7 separate regions of the Homo sapiens genome follow, and all the other regions are linked to region 2. The links are contacts of gene promoters, found by promoter capture Hi-C in blood cells and fetal thymus (Javierre and others, 2016). All regions are on one chromosome and are shown on one strand. Each heading gives the region's core, a stretch centred on a gene start or on the middle of the fragment in contact. The rest is flanking DNA. Distances are from core to core; before and after follow the strand shown.

Region 1 (3,174 bases), core at 528-3,027, 9.8 Mb before region 2:
CAAAGAAAAAATAAGTAGTTTCAACCTCCTGTTATTCTTCTAATCACTCACTCTTTGGCTCTAAAACTTTTTAGGATAGTCCATCATTCATAAATCTTCCAGCCACTCACACACAGATGGGGATAAAAAATACCACAGATGATCCGTGACTTACCTGTACTGTTACCAACCTGGTTTTCTAAAAGTAACTTTCAAATGTGAGACAACTTGTGGTATTTTTTAACAACACATTCAATAGCCAAAAAGAACAAAACCCAAAACACTATGCCATTTCTACAATGCCAGTATACTGAGATTAATAATTTAACGCTTAAACTCTTTAGTAGTCTCCACAGGAACCAGGAATCAGGAAACATGAATTCTAGTGCAAGTTTTGACATCAATTTCCGTGTTGATCTGGGGGGAATACTGAACTTCTCTGGATTTGTTTCATCTGGAAAATAATCTTTAGGTAACATCTAGGATGATTTGAATTCTGTGAGACTGTGTTAACTTTTATAAAATCTTGTTTTTAGTACCTTTTAAAACACACCAAACTCTAGGCGCTTAACCAAATTGTTGATTCTTCAAATACTCACTGATTTTAATAAATGTACTTGTTAAATGATACTATGTTTACACTCCCAAAAGAGCTGCATACTGCTGTATTTTTGACCTTAAGCGTGCCCCCTTTCTAACATTGAGTTAAATTACTGAGTCTTTTCAGGTGTGAAGCATATGAGCGAGACATCGGTCCCTACCATTTCACAGTCTTGCCTCTCACCTCACTCAGCATTCCGTCTTGACTCAGGTTCGCAAAGATGCAGCATGGTTCTGGGTTTTTATAGTCGTTTTTCCAGAAACTGACCAAAGTAGCTAAAGAGATAGCCCTTTGTTGACTATCTGCTCTTGTTTCTGCCATTGCTGTTGGCCTTTGCCCATGTGACTGATGTCGGCTTCAAACACTTCGTTTTTTAGATGATTTAATTTCTGGGCCCTTTTGCCAAGCCTTGAATGTTTTCAGTCCCCACAAAAAGGCATTTTTTCCTCCCTCCCGCCCCCACTACCAGACTCAAATGAAAACAAAGGAGTATGACATCTGCCCTCCCCCTTCCTCCCGCCGCCGCACGCCCTCCCCCCTTCCCCAGCGGCTCCCACTAGGCTTTCCCCGGAGCTCCCGCCACCGGCATCTCTCCCGACCACGGAGGGCCGGGCGAGGCCGGAGAGGTTGCTCATGGCTGGGGTCCACATGGGGTGCCTCTCTCCTCTTCCCCTAGAGGCTCCCCCAATCCAAAGGCCTGTCTCTGCCCATCCCACTCGCTCTCACAGGCACCGCTAACCCAAGGGTCGGGTCCCAAGGTACGGATCGAAATGGCTCCTAGAGGGGGCAGGGACAGACCGGGGAGACGTTATGGGGTTCCCACCCCATCCCCCGCCGCCAAGCCGGTGCCCGCTCCCACTCCGGGATCCTCACCCCCGCCATCGCCCCTATGCCTCCCCAGCCTCCAAGCCCGCTTTCTTCTCATTTTCTCGACCAAAGCCCGCCGGGGGAAGCAAAGGGAGGGGTGTGTGCGATGGGGCGGGGGTTGGGTAACGGCAGCCCAGCCCTGGGAGGGGCCGCGGGAGGGTTTCTCCCCGGCCCGGGACCGGGCCGAAGGACGGTCCAACTCCTCTCTCACACACACCTTCTCGCCGGCCCGATTACATACCCGTCCATTGCCGAACCGGACAAAGCTTCGCTCACAAGAACCGAGCCACGCAGCCAGCGAGCCACACAAGCGGCGAGAAAATGGCGGCTGGGGCCCGACGGAAATTGCCGAAGGTGCCGAGGCGCACGGGCCACCGCGCGGCAGCGGCGGCGGCGGAAAGAGCCGAGCGCGCCGGCGCCCGGCAGCGGGAGGCGAGCGGCAGGGCGCTGGGACTAGGGGGAGTGGGCGCCGCAGCCGACGCCTCCTCCGCGCCTTCGCGCGCCTTTCTCCCTCCGCCCTCCGCCTGCCGTCCTCTGGAACCTGGCGTTCTGCTGCAGACCGCGGCGACCTGGTTTCCCCTCCTTGTGGGGGCGTGGGTGGGACACCTCCCAACAGCTCTCCACACTCTCTCTGCCCTGACTGCAGGACGCCCCCAGGCAGCCTCCACTTTTCACTCCAAGCCAAGTACCAGCTTGGCTACCGTCAACCTATGCGGGCCAAGGAAAAAACATTGGATAGCTTTTCTCCTAAGCCATCTTTTATTTGCAGACCGGCTCCAGCCTCTAAAACAAAAATCTTTACCCCACTGAACGAGACCACTTGGTAACAACAGTACTTTCTCAAGCAAGTAGAACTCCTCAGACTGAAATACAGGCTTTTGCTTCAAGACCTGTAGTACCAAGCCAAGTGGAGGAAAATGTGATTCTCACTTCAGTTGGTGATTAGTGTGCGCCTGTAGAAAATATTCACAATACGCTAGGTGGAAATAGACACAAATGGAGCCATGTGTTAAAATGCTACAATAGTTGGAGTTTAACATTTGGAGGCATGAAAGGGAAAGTGGAGATGGGAGTGGGAACAACTGAGTCTTCAGATTGGTTAGAGAAAGTAGAAGCATTAAAATGGGCTATGCAAATTGACTCCCTTTGCTATATCTTACGGTCTCAATTTTTACTTGATACTATAGTGGACATTTTACTTCAACGTGTTTTTATCAGAGGCTCAACAAAATTGGGAAAGGCACCCGCTTGAAAATTTGCTCAGTGAGTAGCGACTTTGCCAGTACCCATCCTTCTCCTGCACCCTTCACCTCCACCCCCAACACACACAAGGACAAATGCACTTCTAATTCTGAAAAATGACAAATACTCCCTGTGTCCCTCCAGTTACTCTCAATACTCACTCTGGGTTTTTCTGTGTCTCCTTCAGGCAAAGCTCTTATCCTTTGCTAATTGGAATTTCATATACTAAATGATATTGTGTATAATTTTTAGAATTTTTTTTTTTGAGACCCAGTCTCGCTCTTGTTGCCCAGGCTGAAGTGCAATGGCGCAATCTCGGCTCACTGCAACCTCGGCCTCCCTGGTTCAAGCGATTCTCCTGCCTCAGCCTCCCGAGTAGCTGGGATTACAGGCACGCGCCACCACGCCCAGCTAACTTTGTATTTTTAGTAGAGACAGGGTTTCTCCATGTTGGTCAGGTTGGTCTCGAACTCCTGACCTCAGGT
Region 2 (3,259 bases), core at 1-2,500:
GTGAAGCAACATACATAGGCATCCCTATTCTCAAGCCCCAATTCATCAGTTTAGCGCCACTAAAGAAGAATTTAAATCTCCGGACCCTCATTTCCGTACTCCGATGAAGCTTTGCACTCGCGTTCCCGCACTACCCGGCCAGCCTCCCTCAGCTGGCAATTACAAGGTCCTTTGCTGCCCGGAGCACAAGAGTGCAACTCGCTACAGTGTTCACATGTTGCTCTCCGTCATCCCAGCATCTCCTCCCATTTCTGCGCACCTATCCCTTCATGAGCCCCCAAAAGAATTCGTATCCAGATGCCCATAGCTCAAATTAGAATACCCCTCATCTGACATTGCCAGGGCTTCCTGTACGACTTCCAAGAGAACACGCGATGCTAAGCGCTTCTGTCTCCGGAGACCAGCAACACACGCTCCCCACTGAGTTCGGTCTTCTCTCTCGCTCTCTCTCCGCGGAATGCCTACTTCGGGGCTACCCTTTGGCTAGGGAAGCCCAACCTTGCAACCTCTGCCCCGTGACCTCGCGAGCCCAGCACGCCGCTCAAGCTTAATTCAACCCATTCTTGGAGCTCGTGCTCTCGCTGCCCCTTGTTCCCGGTTCTCTTTGAAACCGCTTTCAGCCCCCGAGCCAGACCCCAGGTTAGATGAACGCCCACTTGCTCCGGCGGCAGCGCCTCCTCGGCCCCTTCCACAGCACTCAGCCCGGGGCAGTTCAGTTCCTCACCTAGCTTCGAGCGGGACTCCTCCAGTTTCTGGATCTGGTTTTCCAAGAAGAGCATCGCCACCGCGAAGGCCACCACCGCCAGCAGCTGCAACTTGGGCGGCATCATAATCCTGAGGAGCCCCATGAAACCCGCTGCTCGGGATCAAGACATACCGCGGGGGGCGGGGAGCGGGACCCCGGAGGCGAGAGAGACGCCGGGAGGAGCCCGCCGAGCCGGGAGCGAGGCAAAGAGAGAGCGACAGCGAGAGAACCACCGCAGCGACCCCCCTTCTCGCCTCTCCAGTCCCCCTCCCCCAGGCGCTATCACCAACGCCGCTGGTGTCCGCTTCTCCTCAGCCGACTAAACGGCCGCCCCCTCCAAAAGCCCGCGCAGCAAACAGCGCGAAGCGGCTGCCGGGCTCTCGCCTCCCTCTACTGCCTCAGTCCCCGACCCCCGCGCCCGCCTGCTTGCCCGCCTCCCTCTCTTCCTTCCTTCCCTCCCTCCTTTGCTCGCGGCCGCGCGCCCCTCCACCGGCGCTGCGGCTGCGCCGCCCTCATCCCCGCCCCCGCCCATCCCCCTCCGCCACCACGCGCACGCATCCGCGTACGCTGCTCGGCAACCAGAAGCCCCGCCCCTCCCCCCGTTCGGGTCCGCTTATTGGACGGAAGAGCCCCTGCGCTTCGCTCTTGGTTCGGTTTACGGTTGGTTTCCTCTGCCACAGAGCTCAATCAAGACGACATTCAATTGGGTAAACTTGGAGAAGAAGGCGGGGCTAAAACTGGCGAAGGCGTGGCTTCTTGGCTGCTTGACGAAGTGTCGTGAATAAAAGAAAGGAGACCGCAGAAGTAAAGAAGTGGGGAGTTTAGGCAAGTGCCTGATTTGGGTAATCGAAAGCACCCAGTGATTGTATTTGATGACTTTTAAGCTTTCATATGCCGTTATTTAATACCTGTCACTTCCAAATGAGAGATGTAAGGGCAACGGCCGTTAGCGTTCTGTTTTGGATCAGGCTCTGGAGTGGACGCCCCTAGCTTAGGGGTCCTTCTAGGCAGCCAGAAACCTGCGGAAAATGGTAGCGATGGCGGCTGGGCCGAGTGGGTGTCTGGTGCCGGCGTTTGGGCTACGGTTGTTGTTGGCGACTGTGCTTCAAGCGGTGAGTGTAGATCACCTTCGCAGCTGCCACAGGGAGAGTAGGAGTGATTGCAGCTGAGAAAGACGCAACATTCGGTCCTGGTTGAAAAGGGTGGGGAGGACTGCGCTTCCTTAATGACTGCTGCGGCCAGAATGCAACGTGGCTTAATTTCTCGGTTGATCCTTCTCCTTCCCCGCCTTGGGTTTCTAGCAGCAGTTTTCTCTTGATTTCAGATTGTCTTGGGTACGTAGCTTCTCTTATACGGCTCTTGCTAAAAACAATCTGTAAACCACACCAGGTGGGAGGGGGGAATAATAAAGCTTGGCAAGAAGTGGAGGTTGTTTTTAAATGGACAGAAATGCAAGAGACTCATGACGAGACTTCCAACTCTTAGAGGCAAGTCTTCAAGTCGTTGGTCCAGGCGAACAGTTTGTGTTTACCTCTCTCGCGCGCGTGCTCTCTCATTTTCACTACTTCTGTTAGTCTCTTAACTTCCGTTCTCCTCTGCTATTCATATACGGCTGGCTGCGCTTGAGTGCGATTTGTGCTTTTAAACAATGTTGTTGGAGTAAAAGGAGTTATCTATACCAAAGTATAATTCATTTTTGAAGTTAGTTTTTTAAATGATGTTCGTTGTCTTCTTTAAGGCAGCGTTTTTTATTTCATTTTTCTCTATTGGCAGAATAGATGGGTGACCTTTGAATGGGAAAAGTGTACTTTTAACTTATTTCTTCTCATATCCATGTTCTGCTGTGTGAATAGTAAAATTTTAGGCACAGTGCTGAAAGCTTTTACGTTTTTTTATCCTAGCTTAATTCTTCGGGTAGTCTCTAATAAGGAGACCTGGTTTAATTTACTTATCCAAGGTTGAGGGTGTTAAGGGACTACACCGGAGTCCTCTATGAACACCTGTACTTACCTTTCTCAAAGAGCTTGAAAGCATCCTGGCTGTTTGCTTTGGCTACTTTAACCAAAAGGTAGATTCTTAACTTCTGTAATTAACATTCCAATTATCTTGTTATTCAGGCATTTGGTGCTAGGAATTACTGGATCACCTCTCCCTAAACTTTCTACTGTTTAAGGGTTTTTGCACATCTTTAGGTCATTCGAGATAACATTTCAGGTTGTCTTTTTTTGATCTCCCTCTGTCTTTGACTGTCAGTTGTCTATAGCTGTGTAACCGCCCTAAAACCTAGTAGCTTAAAACAGCAATGATTTCTCATAATTCTGGGTCAGTGGAGTAGAACTACTCCACCTATGTTGGTTTTCCCCTGGCCTCATTTATGCTTTTTGTTGACCTAGTAGGTCAGCTAAACCGAAAGGTTCCAGGATTACCACTGTTTATAGTTGGTGCTGTCAGCTCGAGGACTTGGTTCTGTTCCGTGTGACCTCTCATCCTCCAGTCGGCTAGACCAACTTCTTT
Region 3 (2,926 bases), core at 240-2,739, 9.2 Mb after region 2:
AAGACATATTTTAAAGCCCCAGCTTAAATCAGAGTTTCTCAATAGTGGCATTAATGATGTCTGGGACTCTCTTGTAATATCAATGCAAAGGAATGTTACTAATTCTTTCTCCCACCAATCCTCTTCAGAAATATTGCCAACTATCCACTCAGGGGACAAAACCACCCCCAGTTGAGTGCCAACAAGTTTTTGAGTCCTTCAATGCTAGGCTCTGGGAATATTGTGAATAAGATAAATACTCACTGCTCCCATTGAGGAGTTCAGGAGAGACAGGCAAAAAATTAAGTATACCAAAAAATTTAAGATAATTACAAATTATAATACATTCTCTAAAGGAAGCAAGCAGGATGCTGAAACCGGAAATAATGGGGTAAAGAGTTCTGTATTAAACAGAGAATATCTAGGTAGGAGTTAGCCAGGTGAAGGAAGGATAGAGGTTGGGAGTATCTGTAAAATTGTCTCTAAGGAAACAGCATTTACAAAGCTTTATTTAGTCTCAGGTACATAAGCACCAAAATGTATATTTTCTACGTTGCTATTTTTTACTTGCCATTACTCAGTTACAAAAATGAGAAGGTATTTGTTTTTGATAGGACCATTCAATTGTCTTCCTCCCTCCCTGTTTGTATCTCTCCTTCTTTTCTTCTTTTTCTTCCTACTCTTCATTTCTTCTTTTTTCTCCCTTTCATTAGAAGAGACTTCTTTTCTTCTTTTTCTTCCTACTCTTCATTTCTTCTTTTTTCTCCCTTTCATTAGAAGAGACTTCAGTACCTGGCCTGATGCACAACTCTAAGTCATACTATTTACATTATATTCTCCATGAACGGCACCTCTAGAATTCTGTTCCAGAATCAGTATGACTCAGCTGGGTGTCCACACACCCTCTAGAATTCTACTCCAGAATCAGTGACTCAGCTGGGTGTCCACACTTTGGAATGTATAATCTATTCTCTCAAGGGGAAGTTGATTGATTTATTTCCTAATGATAGTGTTCTTCCTTATAAGCCATTATAAGCCATCAGGAGATATTGTTTGAAGAAAAGTAAAAGATAAGCAATCTGGACTGTGGGATGAAAGGATAAACACCCAAGGGTGGGAGGCAGGAATTCACGGAAGTTAAAAGTGGGAGAGGTATTACATTATATTCTATCAGAGTGAGTTTGTTTTGTGAGAACTTGTCCACTGCAAGGACTTCACTTGGTGTCCACCTGAGAAGTACTTGCCTACTATTATCTACGCACTAGTCTCAAACTCCCGATCTCAGGTGATCTGCCCTGCTGGGCCTCCCAAAGTGCTGGGATTACAGGCATGAGCCACCGCACCTGGTGATCTTGAACAGCCTTGTCAGTTGTCTTCCTTGCATTGACACTGCCCTAGAACTCCTCCAGGACAGGTAAGCCCAGAGAGAACCTTGGTTACTAAGCAGGATGGTGGTGGGACTTGGAGGCTGAATTGAATTTGCTAGGACACTGTAAGAACAGAATACCCCTGATACATTTTCAATAGAAGAATTTCTGGGGAAGTGACTTTTGTCTATTTTTCTATTTGGTCGCCTGTTTTTTTAAAAATTGATTTCTGGAAATACATATGGAGTTGAGCCCCTTTTCAATTATATGTATTTCAAATAAATTCTATTTGCTGGCCTAACTTTTCTTCTCTCTCTGTCTCTCTTCTTTTTTTTTCTTCTGTAGATCTCCTCTGTGGACAGCTTTTTTTTTTTTTTTTTTTTTTTTTGAGACAGGGTCCTCCTCTGTTGCCCAGGCTGGAGTTCAGTGGCTCTATCTTGGCTCACTGCAACCTCTGCCTCCTGGGTTCAAGTAATTCTCCTGCCTCAGCCTCCTGAGTGGCTGGGATTACAGGCACGCGCCACCACACCTGGCTAATTTTTGTATTTTTCGTAGAGATGGGGGTTTCACCATGTTGGTCAGGCTGGTCTTGAACTCCTGACCTCAGGTAATCCACCCGCCTTGGCCTCCCAAAATGCTGGGATTACAGGTGTGAGGCTCTGTGCCCGGCTGGAGACAACTTTTCATCTCCTAACGGCATCTTTTTTTTTTTTTCCCAGAGAATATCTCACTTTGTCACCCAGGCTGAAGTGCAGTGGCACAATCATGGCTCACTGCAACCTCAAACTCCTGGTCTCAAGTGATCCTCCACTCTTAGCCTCTTGAGTAGCTGGGACTACAGGTGCCTGTCACCATGCCTGGCGAATTTTTGTATTTTTAGTAGAAATGGGGTTTCGCCATGTTGCCCAGGCTAGTCTCGAACTCAAGTGATTCACCCGCCTCGGCCTCCCAAAGTGCTGGGATTACAGGCATGAACCATGGCGCCTGCCTGTGAAACTTCTATTCTGTGAAATTTCTATTCTCCTCAGTGAACCGAGGATAGGCAATCATTTGTGGTGCAAATTGAGGCCTGAGTGTCAATCCCTACCTAGAATTTTGTATCATGGTTAATTTATTTCATTTTTACCATAAAAATAAGTAGAAGCTTTTATATTTTCTACCTATTCCAATGGAGACTGAGCATCTTGCATGATACTTTGGTACATGCTCCCATTTTGGAGACCAAAAAGTCAGATGTCATGAGACAGATTGAAACTGGCAATTTTAACAATTTTTTATTAATATAACCTTTTTTATTCATAGATTTGAACCTCAATCGAGTGCATTTTAACAGTTACATAATTAGAAGGCAGGACTCCTTCCATGCTCCAGGCATTAAGCAGATACTAAGGTTTCAATAAATATTTGATTTGATCCTCTTGATTTTAGCCTAAGGAGAAAATGGTGAGATAAATTTCTTCTTTGCATAGGTGGAAAAGGGAAACATAATTGCTTTCAGAGAATCTAGGTCCTAAGAAGTTGGGGGAAGAAAGATGAAAGGAGGAAATACAATGTTGAATTGGGATAAGTTAAGTCTAATA
Region 4 (3,263 bases), core at 171-2,670, 7.5 Mb before region 2:
TTGTAGAGTCAAACAAATATGAGTGTCTACTATATATTCCAGCCACAGTTCTAGCCACTGGGGCTATAACTGTGAATAAAATAGACAAAAATTCTTGCCTTTGTGGAACTTAAATGCTAGCAGTATGTATATACTGCAAACATATACAACAGACAAGATAAATATGTAAAATATATAGCATATTTTATAGTGATAAGTGCTAAGGAGAAAAGTAAAGTCTGGAAGGTAGACAGGATGCTATTTTGAGTGGCAGGGGCCAGGCACAGTGGCTCTTGCCTGTAATCCCAGCACTTTGGGAGTCTGAGGTGGGAGAATCGCTTGAGCCTAGGAGTTCGAGACCAGCCTGGGCAACATAACGTGACCTTGTCTCTACAAAAAATATTAGCCAGGTGTGGTGACGTGTGGCTGTAGTCCTAGCTACTTGGGAGGCTGAGGTAGGAGGACTGTTTGAGCCTGGGTGGCAAAGGTTGCAATGATCCAAGATGGTGCCATTACACTCCAGCATGGGTGAGAGAGTGAGACCCCGTCTCAAAATAAATAAATAAATAAAAATAAATCGAATGGCAATAGAAGGTCTCACTAAAAGGATGTCTGAAAAAAGACTGAAAGAGTGGGGAGAGTAAGCAATGTGAGTATCTGAGGAAAGAGCACTTCAGGCAGGGGAAACAGCAAGAGCAAAAGCCTTGAAATAGAATGCCTACCCAAGGATGTGAATGTGCCAGTAACTGGGACATATAATTAATTAAACAACCTGTACTCAGTTCCCCCTAGCAGACCACAGACAGCTACACAGTTCTCAGAACACTGCTCTGGGCCTGATCTGCCTCAGTTGGGTTCAGTACACAGCTACTTTGGCTGGCAAATTCTTCAATGCTTTTTTTTCCATCCAAGGTTGCTTAAGCATCTCTTTTTTATTTTGAGGATCCAAACGGGGCCATATAACATCTACTCATGGGTAACTGTAAGGGTCTCAAGCCGCTCTAGCCCCTCACATGATTCATGCTTGCACTTTGCAAAACACCCAGTGCGCCTGTGAAACTGAGAAAAGTGAAGCCAGCCCCTTCTAGAGCTTGATTTGAATGGGGCAGATTTAAGGAAGGAAAGCTGAATTTTGAAGTTTGCAGGAAAGTTGTAGAGGGGTTAGCAGTAACGTAGTGCAGGGAGTAAGAAGCTGGAGATATAAGGACACCCAATGGGTAAAGAAAGGCCCAGCAGCAGGCAACAGGGCTGAGACTCAGGACAAAAAAAAAAGTCAAGAAATTTCCAGCAGTGGGAATGTCCAAAAAACTTCTAAATAAAAGCATTTTAAGCTGTTCACTATGCTGGGATATAATCCCTACCACTCCTCCCAAATTTTCAATAAAGCCCTACTATAAATATCTGCTTTGTGATTGATTCTTTAGAGAAATCAAGGCAGACGCCAAAGAGACAGGCTCAAGAGACAAGATGTAAGTACCTTCTAAAATAGAGCAGAAAGTGCTCCAAAGGAAGCGAAGTAAGATGTCACTAAAAGAAACACAAGCTCCCTGAAATTCCTGAGAAATATTTAGGAGAGGAAACTGTGTTCCCACCATTTACAGAGGGGGGCTTTTAAAAGCAGGAAACTCACCCCATAAGCAGGTGGACTTTGGTAGACCTAGCTAGATTATAACCAGTCAAGCAATGAATAGATAAAACAATAAAGGTATTTAAATGCATGCTTCAGAAATTTTAAAAGAGGTGATCATCATTTAGATCATCTGGAGTAGTTAAATAACACTTCATGGATAGGGTGACCCTGACCTAACCCTTCAAGGATGACAAGAGTTGGAGAACAGGGATATCATAGAAAGATATTCTAGGTATGAGTAACAGCATGAATAAAGCTCCAAAGCCAAAAATGAGTGTGGCCTGTTCAAAGAACAGTGTAGAAACTGTCCTATTTGGAACAGAGAGTACCCATTGGCAGGCAATGGCATATAAGATTAGCCAGGTAAAGTAAGACCAGATTGAGGGAGGCTCTGAAATCCAAGATGAGAAATCCGAACTCTATTTGACAAGCATTGATAAGAAGCGAAAGAAACTGCTTTGTTCTGTTCTGTTTTTTAAAGATAATAAAATACTATGGCTATACAGACTGGTACCATTCCCTGCCTTCTAAAATTGGCCCACTGATTTCCCACTACCCAGGTCAGGTTATATATGCTCAGGTACACAACTATTACTTCTGCAAAAAGAATGTTTCTATTCATGTTTGTACTAGGCATCTCCAAATGCCTGTCAATTACGCTTAAAAGTTCTTCAACTATCCTATGTCATTTATCCTCTCTATAAACACTGTCTAACCCATGACAGAGCCGAACTAGGGAATTAAAGATGACTCAGTTCATGCCCTCAAGAAACTCAGGATCTGATGTAGGCAAAAGCCAAGAAAACAAACTAGTACAATACAGAATGGTAAGTGCTAGAGTAGGGGATACCTAGAGCAGTAGTCTCCAACCTTTTTGGCACCAGGGACCAGTTTTGCGGAACACGATTTTTCCACAAATTGGGGTTGAGTTGGGGGATGGTTTCAGGATGAAACTGTTTTGCCTCACATCATCAGGCATTAGATTCTCATAAGAAGTGTGCAACCTAGATCCCTCACATGTGCAGTTTACAACAGGTTCACGCTCCTATGAGAATCTAATGCCCCTGCTGATCTGACAGGAGGCGGAGCTCAAGTGGTAATGCTCGCTTGCACAGGCTGTGCAGCTGGGTCCTAACAGGCCACCAACCTGTACCAGTCCACAGCCCGGGGGTTGGGGACCCCTGGCCTACAGTATCATAAAAGCAGAGGACACTTACATCAGTTTGGAAATCAGAAAAAGACAGAAAACACCTAAGACAAAGTGTTGACTGAGTCTTGAAGAAAAAGAAGTATCAGCTGGGCAAGTTGGCTCATGCCTGTAATCCCAGCACTTATGGTTGGATGAGTGGGAAAAGTAGGGAAGGACCACACCATGAATACAGAAAGTTTGTATTTTAGAGTAGATTAATGATTTTAATGAAGGAATATTATGATCATATCTGAGCTTCTTAAAAAGAGCTCTGGTGGCAGTGGAAGATGGATTGAAAGGGCACCACAAAGTTTCTTTCTAACATAAATGCAACAAAAATCTGATAAAGGATGCTGTAACAGTCACTTTATTCCAGTTATCCACTCCTACCCCCTTTCTAGGCTTAACACACATCCTTCATGAAGCCTTCCCCAACCCTTCCCAAACACATTAATCTTGTCTTTC
Region 5 (3,016 bases), core at 50-2,549, 6.2 Mb before region 2:
CCTTCCTATGTATTACACACAGGCCTAGCTAGGTTTTCACATTTAAGTTAGTGTTACATGGTTTCTATCTTTAACCAAAGTTAAATGTTTTAAAGAATAGAGTAACATTCCATAAGCCTTTTCCCATTGTTCACAAACCCTTGCTGTTAGTCAGATTACCCCGATAAATCCATCTGTTCCCTCTAATTGCTTCCAAAGAAAAATTCTAGCAACCAAGGACACCAGATTGTAAAACACAGAGTTAGAGTTCTGGCACTACCGAAATATGTTAAGAAATCTTGGCAAATTGGTTAAAATTCCTTGAGCCGTAATTACCTCAGTTGTAAAAATGAATACAATACAAATCTACATCCTAGACGTAGATTATATGAGTTAGGTTTAATTAAACACAAGAAAAGCCTCATATTTTTGGTGAGCTCCAAATATAAGCTACCTAGCTTTCCCCCATCTCACTTTCCCTCCCACCGCTTCCCTTTAAGCTTTCAGGTTGTGCTTCCAACCTCCACTTCAGTGTGTTCCCCTTATCCTTACCAGCACTTACACTCGACCCCCTTTACTCCAATTCCATACAATTCCACCCTCCGATTCCAAGCTGCTACTTCCCTTTGCGCACTGCTAAGGTCCCAGGCAGCCCTCCACTCTGCTCCCCACATTTCCCTCAGCCCCCATTTCCCAACGGCTCCTCCTCTCGGCTCCCCACCCCCTCGTCACCAGGTTCATCCTGCCCCTCCAACCGTCTCCCGCCCCCAGGTTCCTTCCTGCCCTCCAAACACAGCTTCCCCGTCTCAACGTTTCATCTTGTTCCTCCAACAGACTCCCCCAACGACCTCCTCGCTCCTTTAGTCCCTATTTTCTCCCAACACTCAACTGACTACTCCTCTTCATCCATTCTTTTCAATATACACATAAATGCAAAGGCACCCACATACAGGAGCCCCCACCCCCACCTTGGTCCTCCATCTTTCCCTTTTATACTTGCTTCCTTTCTTCCTCCTTCCCCCAACCCCCATCTCCTCCGGAAGAGTCGGTTCCCAGGCCAAGGTCTCTCACCTCATTCGGTCACTTCAGTGGTGCCAACCGCTTCATACAGGAAAAAACAACCAATCCGTCCCCGTGGGCGCTTCCCCTGCGAGTCCGAGCACTTACTGGGCACCCGCCCCACCGGGTACCCGGCACATATGCACGCACAAACCGAGGTCCTTGGAGACAAGGGTTGGGGGTAGAATGAGCGTTCTTACACCGGCCTCAAACACAGCCCACTTCAATACAGCCCCTCGCCATTTTGGTTTCCCGCGGACTGCCGGTGCATTCTGGGAGCGCGGAGCGACTCCGGTGCCGAATGGCAGCTCTCCAAAGCCGCGGGGGGGCAGGGACTGCGCGGCGAGCGCGGAGGAACACCGCGCCCTGCGTCCCCGACTGGGGCTGAACAAAGAAGGACTCTTTAACGTTGCAGTGAGGCTCAGTCCTTCCGCCGCCGGGGCTAACACAATAGTGAAAGCTGCGCTCCTGATCGTCGGCAGGCTGGCACTGTTATACAGGAAAAGGGTCGTGTGCGACCTTCGGTGTGCGTGGTCGTAACGGTGCTCTGTGCATCTTGCTGGGCCGATTTCTTTTCCCTGGAGAAAACCTTAACTGAAGCACGTTTCCTCTACTTTCATCCTAAGGCCTGCTGTTAGAATTTCCTTCAGAGGGGAGAAGACCCAGGATGTCGAGATTAAATTTTATTCAGCGATTCACTGTCCAGTCCCAAACTCCTTATCAGGAGCTGCTTTTATGAAAGACTTTCAGACGATTTTTTTCCTAACGATGAAAGGTTGTTTTCTGTTTACCCGCTTTGCAGTCCTTCCTAGTTGTAATGAAATCTGAGAATAGTCCCCTGCAAAATGGTTTAAGAAAACAGAATTGTTTATTAGTGCAGACCCTTAGCCTGCCCAGATTCTGCTGCCTACAGGGGTCCCAACTGACAAGCTGTGAGATTGTATGCTTGTCTCTTTAACTTACACCTAGATACAACCCAGCTCCTCTTAGTAGCCACGTGTGGAATCTTTATTTATAATTTCGTCAAAATATTTTTAAAGCCATTTTATATTTTTGTCCCATATTATGCCACAGGGATAGTGAACACCATATTTTTTCTGTCTCTGAAAAAGTACCTTTTGTGGTCTAAGCTCATTTGGCTCATACTTCAAAAGGGGTTCCCTCAGCCTGTGATCTCAGAATTTGGCAAATAAGCATATTCGTTTTATCCAATACCATTCAATACTTTAAATATTGTGGTCATACCCTTCCACTCCTCTGCTTCTCCTGAATAATAGTCCTAATCTTTTAAGTCTGTCTTCTTACTGTACCCTCACTGTATCTACTTACCTACTACCTTTCAGGTTTCACTTTATTTCAATTCTCATCATCGTCTCTCATAAATTCGTCTTAAGTGACCTTCATACGTTGGCTGAGGAAAATTTTGACTTAAAAAAAGCAGATGCAGCCGGGCGCGGTGGCTCACACCTGTAATTCCAGCACTTTGGGAGGCCGAGACAGGCAGATCACCTGAGGTCGGGAATTCGAGACCAACCTGATCAACTTGGAGAAACCCCGTCTCTACTAAAAATACAAAAATTAGCCAGGTGTGGTGGCACATGCCTGTAATCCCAGCTACTCGGGAGGCTGAGACAGGAGAATCGCTTGAACCCAGGAGGCAGAGGTTGTGGTGAGCCAAGATCGTGCCATTGCACTCCAGCCTAGGCAACAAGAGCAAAAACTCCATCTCAAAAAAAAAAAAAAAAAAGTAGATGCATTCCCATTCAGGAACGTGGCATTAAGGTAAATAAATAAATAAAATATTAAAAAGTAGATGCAGTACAAAAATTAATAAAGATATTGCACAAACAGATATATTTGCTGTGCAGCTAAGCCTAATCAGAGAACATCTGTTTTGGAGAACGTTTGGTCTAAGTTTTCCTCAACATTTCTGTAAAGTGGTCACCAAGCCTCAACTTCAAAATCTTCAGTGATTCAA
Region 6 (3,095 bases), core at 141-2,640, 8.3 Mb before region 2:
ATAGCAATGGGTGAAACTCCTGACTTTCACCTTAGAAAACTGTGACCGTCATACTAGTTATATGTTCGGAAGAAAACTGCCTTAGTTCTTTTAAGAATTGGAAAGGATTAGCATTCTTCCTAATTGGTCTTGGTAAATCCCCCTGCCCACCCACACATACACTGTAGCTGCAAAATAAGATTATACAAAATGATACTGTCATCTCTACAAGAAACTGAAAAGCCCAATAACATACTCCATTCTTCTGGTATTTAATGTGGCAATAAAATTACATACTTTTAAAAACTCATTTTCTCCCAAAAACTCTAGAAGTATGTATTGTACTCTTCCATATCTCATCTGCTTGACATTGTACAAGCAATTAAACTGGCTCCTTTCTGCCTCAGAATTTTTCATATGACACATGCACTGTAAGTCTGATTTTTTGTTTTCTTTTTTTGCCATAATAAAAAAGAAAACAAAGTTGCCCCTATCTGCTTTAAGGTTATTAACAGCTTAGAAACAGTGATTAGCAGAAAAATAATTATGCTCTAAATCTAATACTAATCTCTGCCCCTCCTTAGCCCCCCAGAACCTTAGTTAATAAGCTTAATTCACAAACTGATCATTCTCAACAAACATCTATGCCCTAGAAAACTTAAGGCTTGCCCCAGAAAACTAAAATCTCCATAAGTCCAAGGGTGTTTTCATGTATTCTAAAGACCCTACCAAAAGGGTCTTGCCCTCTTGTTCAAGTTGATACAAATTGACTACTTGTTGTTTCTAACCAAATCATTCTGTCTTATAGTAAGTGTATCATTTTCATACCTAAAACACAAACTGAAACAGGTTTCAAACCTTATGCTTCCTTACAAACATCAGAAAGTAAGCTCCTAAACACATTCCAAACAGAAATTCAAACTAGAGAAACTTAAACTTTTAGAACTCCAAATTCACACTAATGCTATTTTTAAGGTTTCATTCTACTTAATAAAATACAACACACAACAGAAACTCTATAAATGCAGTCAAATAACAGAAGACATTTTTAAAAAAAGGTAAAATTTAAGAGAATGGGTTTTTCAGGATTCACTAAGAGCCCATTAAGAAATTGTTTACATACCATATACATCTGACCTTCCCTACACTTGTGTTTTTTTTCTTTGCAATTGTTATATATCCTCAAGATACAACTTTGAAGAAAACCACCAAGAAACCTTCAGCACCCTCTCATACTTGGTAAGACAAGACTGTCTCCTCTTGCTCCCAGGCAGCTCCCAGGCAAGCATACACCAGTGCTTGTTTTATGCTTCAGTTGGATTTTTACATAAGTTTCAATGTAGCTTCAGAAGAAAAAAAAAAAAACTAAAAATAAATGAAGCTAAAAGTAGCAATCTCATCGGTTTTATAGAAGTCAGCTCAATACTGACAATCAGCATAAAACCGAGCTGAGCAGATTTAGAGGGGTCAATGTGTGACAGTCATGATTCATTTTATAAGAAGGCCCAAACTAATTTGAACATTAGTGTTGCTAAAATACAAAAATTCACTCTGCAGCTTCTGTGAAAACCTATTACATGATATTGGGTTCTCCCATCTTACAACTTTTTTATCTGTAAGATTCTTTCCAGAAGCACAACTCCCACATATAACGAACATTGACTATGGCCACATAATCTGTGTCACTCAATTTCCTCATCAGGAAAATGGTGATACAATACCAATCTCACGCCTCTCATAGATCCACACATACATGCACAAACACTCCCCTTTGGGATTGTTCTGAACATAAGTTGGCTCACACTCATATCTTTTCTCTGGGTGCTCATTATCGCTCTTTCTGCACAAGTATTTCCTTGCTTTCCAAGAACTATTTTCCTGATGCAACAGCCCCATCTCTCTATTAAGGAGCATGATGCAGTGCAAAGGCCCATACACCTGGAGCCTGGTGGTTATTTAACCAGTCTGAGTATCAGTTATCTTCTCTGTGAAGTAAGACCAATAGTACCCCTCATCAAGTAAGATGCATTTCAAGTATCACGTACATGGCAGGTCACCCCATCAAATCTGGCACCTGGACTGACTACAATGCATACAGAAAAACAGAATATCCCTAATGTGGTCTATCCACAGCCCTCCCTTGTAGATGGGAGTGTAGGGACTTACTTAATTTGCACCCCTAAGAGATGGTTATGCCTCTTACTAGAAGCTTACTATAACCATTGTAAAGAGATCAAAAGGCAGATAAAATCCCCTGAAATTCTCAGCATAAAATTAGTCCAGCTAAATGGAATCCAATTATTTAGCTTCTTCAATCTTACGGCCTTAATAGTTGATCCTTGGGTTAGCAGTCTGAGTCTTGCTGGGTTATCTTGTTACCAGGAATGCAATTCCTCTGCAACATTCTCCTGATTCCAGTGGCAAAAGGGAGAACCTTATTTGGGGGAGGCCAGAAAAGAACTAGTGTTTAGAGTGTTCTGGTATCAAGTGTGTATCCTCCAACCCAAACTGACAGTGATGGTGAGTGGTAGCCAGCAGTCTGCTGCATGTTTACTGTGGTCTGTTAAAGAAGTCCTTACTTTGTAAAAAGATGTTACGAAAATCATGGGAAAAAAAAAAAAGGCCTTTACCTTACCCCCTTAATTCCCACTTGTGAACATCAAACATCCCCATTTCAATCACTGAATTATTCTACCTCTCAGCAACAAAATGTCCTAAGTTGTTACACTGAATTCTTTTATAATTCAATTACTTATTGATGCCAGAACATGGAATTAAACTAATTAGGAGGCATGGCTTGAAAGTCATGCTCAATTTAACAGCAGATAAAGGGTTCACAGTGTTCTCAAGATTAAGAAACTGTTTTCTTTCTATGCTTACATTTTTGGGTTTTCTCTGACCCTTCAGCAGTGTTTTATGCTCAGCTGTGTACTAATGACCCAGACCATTACCAGTTCTTTAAGGTGTGATGGGAAATTGCAGGTTCATTTTTCCAGGATATTCCCAACTGAGCCATAATAAAGGAATTTAGGAAAACTGATGATCTCTTCAAATAGCTGCCTCAGGCAGAAGTAATTATCAATAAAGAGAACAGTGGAGACAGAGAGGGAGATGGT
Region 7 (3,404 bases), core at 250-2,749, 6.3 Mb before region 2:
GCAGAAAAAATGAACAGACAAATCACAAAGAAATCTAAATGGCAAAGAAATACTGAAAAGGTACATTTTGTAAGAAATCAAGAAAAACAGCATTTTTCCCTCAAAGTGACCAAGAAAAGATGAGGAACCAAATGTAAATGCTTGAAAAACATTATTTCCCTAAAATTTGGTCATTCTGCCTCTGTAAGTCTACCCTAGAAATAATCTCAAACACCAAAGAAGTTTTATGTTCATTGCTGCATTTTGTTTTTCCTGTGCTGAAATAATCCCTAATAGCATTTTGTTTTGTTTGAAAAAACAGAAAAGAAAAATAAAGTCTTCCCATAACTCCTCTATTTAAAACTACATATAATGTATGTATACAATGTTTATAAAAGTAAATAGTGAAAGCCTCACTCCAACCTTCCAGTCTCTCTCGAAATTATCAACAGTGTGAAGCATAGTTTCTAACCTTAATATATCACATGTATATATATTTACATACAAACACACACACACAGACACATGCACACTTCTTATAAAGAGGAAAACTAAGAGTATTATACATGTGTGTACTGCTCTGTAATGTTTTTCTGCCACTAAATATATTAGGTAATTGTTTTTGAGTGCTGACTACACATAGACACTGTTTTAAGTGACTACATATATTATATCATTTAAACCTTATAATGCTCCATACAAGTCAAACAACTTTGCATCTTAGTACTAGTATATTTGCCTCATTTTTTTAAAAAAAGGTTTTGTTGCAATCTATCTTATGGGTATACCATAATTTACTATGTCTCCATTACTGGACATTTTGGTTTCTTCTAATTTTTTGTGTAATACCAATCATTTAGTAAAAAAATAGGAAACCACTGAAATACAGGAATTATTAACTAAATTATGATATAATCACATGAAATATAATGCTACCATAAAAAATGTTCAATGGAAAAGCTATGTAAATGCATCAGAAAATGCACAGACTATATATAAAGTAAAAAACAGAAAACACCAAAACTATTTAAAACAGTCTGGATTCAACTACGTATTAAACTGGTAAAGTGGTTTCTAGGTGGAAACTCTGGGTGATCTTTCTTCCTCTTTTTGCTACTTTTAAAATTTTCAACAATGACAATGTGTTATTTTAAAAGGGAAGATAAGTAAGTTATACTTCCTTTGTATAAAAAATAAAACCACACAAATTGGTAATCTTAACACCTTAAGAAGCTGACTTATCTAAATGCAAAAACTGTAAAGTTCCCTTCAATCATTTTCAGATATAATTCATACAATATTGATTTTACAACATGTTGATACTATAGTATTATAATGAAAATTACTTCCCATAACACATTAAGGCAATGTGGCAATACAAGGAATATTTTTCCAATTATAAATCTTAAAATAACAACTATTTTCTGTTGGCAAACTTATTTCAAGATACATACTTTTGCTCTTGACTGTGTTAATTCAAAGTGAATAGATTCAAATTTAGTCATTAAGGAATGATTCTGTGTGACCAAACAAGCATTCTGTTGCCTAAGTTTATTTAGTTTCTCTCGAAGGCTTTTAATCTCCTGATCCACAGGGGCAGAAGATGAAAACATCTGAAAGAATGAAAAAGAACAAATATATTTTCAATTATTTCAATTAAGGGTTACATGTAATTAATGGAAAATTATGAGCAATTATTAACAAAATGACGAAGCAGCTCAGAAAATGAGTTAAAATACTTAGTGAGTATTGACAAGGATATGTGGAACAATCAATACTCTCTCTTCCACTGCTGGTGGAAGTACATACAAGTATAACCTGGAAAACAGTGGTGCACTTTGGGAAACTGGCTGGTATTATCCAGCAAAGTTGAATATGCTAAGAACCAATAATATCATCCCTAGACATAAACCTGATAAAAACTTTTGTACTTTTTCACGTGCAGATATAAAACTATTCATAGCTACATTGTCCAGAGATAGTAAATAGGAAGAACCCAAATGTCCACCACCAACAAAATGGATAATAGGTAAAATATTATTTCATCTGTATAAATATTTTTATTATATTCTTTTTATATATATTTTACAATACATTTAATTTTCATGAGGATTGTGATTTTCAAAACATTTCTTTTAATTAACTTTATTTTGAGTGATTTATTTATGCAATTCAAAACTTGAAACTATATAAAAGAAAAAGTATACACAGAAGTCTCTTCCCATCTTTAATAGGTGGGTAACCACTTTTATAAGTTTCTTGTTTAGTCTTCTGGTAATTCCACATGCATACATAAGCAATATAAATTACCCACTTCCCTCCTCTCCTTATGCAAAAACTAGCACATTAAATATAACATTCTGCACCTTGCATTTTTTTTTTACTTGAACAATATACACTGGCAATCTCTCCATAATAAATACATTGACAAACTCCTTTTTTCTTCTCAACTGCATAGTTTCCATTGTATGAATAAACCATTAGTTTATTCAACTAACCCCCTATTACTGGATACTTGAACTATTTCTAATCTTTTGATATGATAAACAATGCCTAATTTCATATCCTGCAGGGTGTCTACAGTATCGTTTTTCCAGAAGTGGGAGTTCCAAGTCAAGGTAAATGTATTTGTAATTTTGGTAAATATTGCCAAATGCATCTCAGTTGGGGTTATATCACTGTGCATTCCCACTAGGCAATGTACCCGTACCCAATATCACCAATAAAATAACACCTCAAACATTTGAATGTTTAATAATTCTATAGGTAAGAACTAGGTAAGGTACTTAGGTATAGTTTCACTTTGAATTTATCTTATTATGAGTGAAATTGGACACCTTTTCATTAGTTTGGATATCACTTTTATTTCTTTTTCCGTTCATGTCTTTTGCCCATTGGGTTACTGATATTTTTGTTCTCAATTTCTAGGAGATCTTTACACACTAGATTAGCCTTTTGTCTTTGATCGGCATTATCATTATTGTTTTCCCAATTAAGGCACATATACAATAAGAATGATCAGCAATTTGAATGAGGATAGAGATCAAATTTCTTAGAATTACATACCATGTAAACATGGAATTTGAATTTGTTTCTAAAAAGTAGATTCAGACAGCTTCATTAAGCAGATTCGTTACAAAAAGGAAAGCTCTTAATGGTTGGCTTTCCGAAGTGGAAAGAGCAAATACATATCCAAAAAGATTATGTGCAACCATATCTGTGTATATACATGTAGGGAGTCGGGGGAACAAAGAATAGGAAGAGAGTGTAAAAGGAGATAAAAGAGTTGAGTGAGGAAGAGGGATAAATGCAGGGAGATAAATATGTGATAGAATAAGAAAAAGGAAGAGAGTTTCAGACCAAGCAAAGATCTCTAACATCATTGACAAAATAGATAATGAAAAGAGAACAGTGCCATACTATCC

Evidence for each region. Contacts are between HindIII fragments. The CHiCAGO score rates a contact against its expected background, and 5 or more counts as called.
Region 1: the fragment with the promoter of PTBP2 here is called in contact with the fragment with the promoter of HS2ST1 in region 2 in 3 of 17 cell types (naive CD4 T cells, total CD4 T cells and fetal thymus); the score reaches 8.5 in naive CD4 T cells.
Region 3: a fragment that was not itself captured here is called in contact with the fragment with the promoter of HS2ST1 in region 2 in 2 of 17 cell types (non-activated CD4 T cells and total CD4 T cells); the score reaches 10.5 in non-activated CD4 T cells.
Region 4: a fragment that was not itself captured here is called in contact with the fragment with the promoter of HS2ST1 in region 2 in 3 of 17 cell types (total CD8 T cells, naive CD8 T cells and total CD4 T cells); the score reaches 7.0 in total CD8 T cells.
Region 5: the fragment with the promoter of MTF2 here is called in contact with the fragment with the promoter of HS2ST1 in region 2 in 1 of 17 cell types (non-activated CD4 T cells); the score reaches 6.4 in non-activated CD4 T cells.
Region 6: a fragment that was not itself captured here is called in contact with the fragment with the promoter of HS2ST1 in region 2 in 2 of 17 cell types (non-activated CD4 T cells and naive CD8 T cells); the score reaches 10.7 in non-activated CD4 T cells.
Region 7: a fragment that was not itself captured here is called in contact with the fragment with the promoter of HS2ST1 in region 2 in 1 of 17 cell types (total CD4 T cells); the score reaches 6.3 in total CD4 T cells.

The regions. Positions count from the first base shown.
Region 1 is chr1:96,720,387-96,723,560 of GRCh38, reverse strand. PTBP2 (polypyrimidine tract binding protein 2) reads right to left here and starts at 1,777. Exons shown (of 14, transcript NM_021190.4): 1 at 1,689-1,777. The coding sequence starts at 1,696. RefSeq lists silencers at 1,302-1,581, 1,812-2,011. The HindIII fragment of the contact is 2,234 bases long and covers 1,716-3,174 here.
Region 2 is chr1:86,912,626-86,915,884 of GRCh38, reverse strand. HS2ST1 (heparan sulfate 2-O-sulfotransferase 1) reads right to left here and starts at 1,250. Exons shown (of 7, transcript NM_012262.4): 1 at 725-1,250. The coding sequence starts at 848. SELENOF (selenoprotein F) reads left to right here and starts at 1,759. Exons shown (of 5, transcript NM_004261.5): 1 at 1,759-1,857. The coding sequence starts at 1,774. RefSeq lists enhancers at 1,510-1,629, 1,680-1,839, 1,233-1,847, 1,950-1,999, 1,848-2,462. The HindIII fragment of the contact is 1,083 bases long and covers 549-1,631 here.
Region 3 is chr1:77,760,176-77,763,101 of GRCh38, reverse strand. No RefSeq gene overlaps it. Among named protein-coding and RNA genes, the nearest start is that of USP33, 1.8 kb to the right of the region's middle. The HindIII fragment of the contact is 2,006 bases long and covers 487-2,492 here.
Region 4 is chr1:94,421,708-94,424,970 of GRCh38, reverse strand. All of the region lies in intron 1 of ABCD3 (ATP binding cassette subfamily D member 3), which reads right to left. Among named protein-coding and RNA genes, the nearest start is that of ABCD3, 5.0 kb to the right of the region's middle. The HindIII fragment of the contact is 5,695 bases long and covers 1-3,263 here.
Region 5 is chr1:93,077,566-93,080,581 of GRCh38, reverse strand. MTF2 (metal response element binding transcription factor 2) reads right to left here and starts at 1,299. Exons shown (of 15, transcript NM_007358.4): 1 at 1,051-1,299. The coding sequence starts at 1,055. RefSeq lists enhancers at 1,256-1,550, 1,487-1,736. The HindIII fragment of the contact is 3,598 bases long and covers 482-3,016 here.
Region 6 is chr1:95,236,666-95,239,760 of GRCh38, reverse strand. The region is part of intron 7 of TLCD4-RWDD3 (TLCD4-RWDD3 readthrough); the gene reads right to left. The region is part of intron 1 of RWDD3 (RWD domain containing 3); the gene reads right to left. Among named protein-coding and RNA genes, the nearest start is that of RWDD3, 4.0 kb to the right of the region's middle. The HindIII fragment of the contact is 1,601 bases long and covers 590-2,190 here.
Region 7 is chr1:93,184,533-93,187,936 of GRCh38, reverse strand. CCDC18 (coiled-coil domain containing 18) reads right to left here. Exons shown (of 29, transcript NM_001378204.1): 4 at 1,434-1,592. Among named protein-coding and RNA genes, the nearest start is that of CCDC18, 5.5 kb to the right of the region's middle. The HindIII fragment of the contact is 7,524 bases long and covers 1-3,404 here.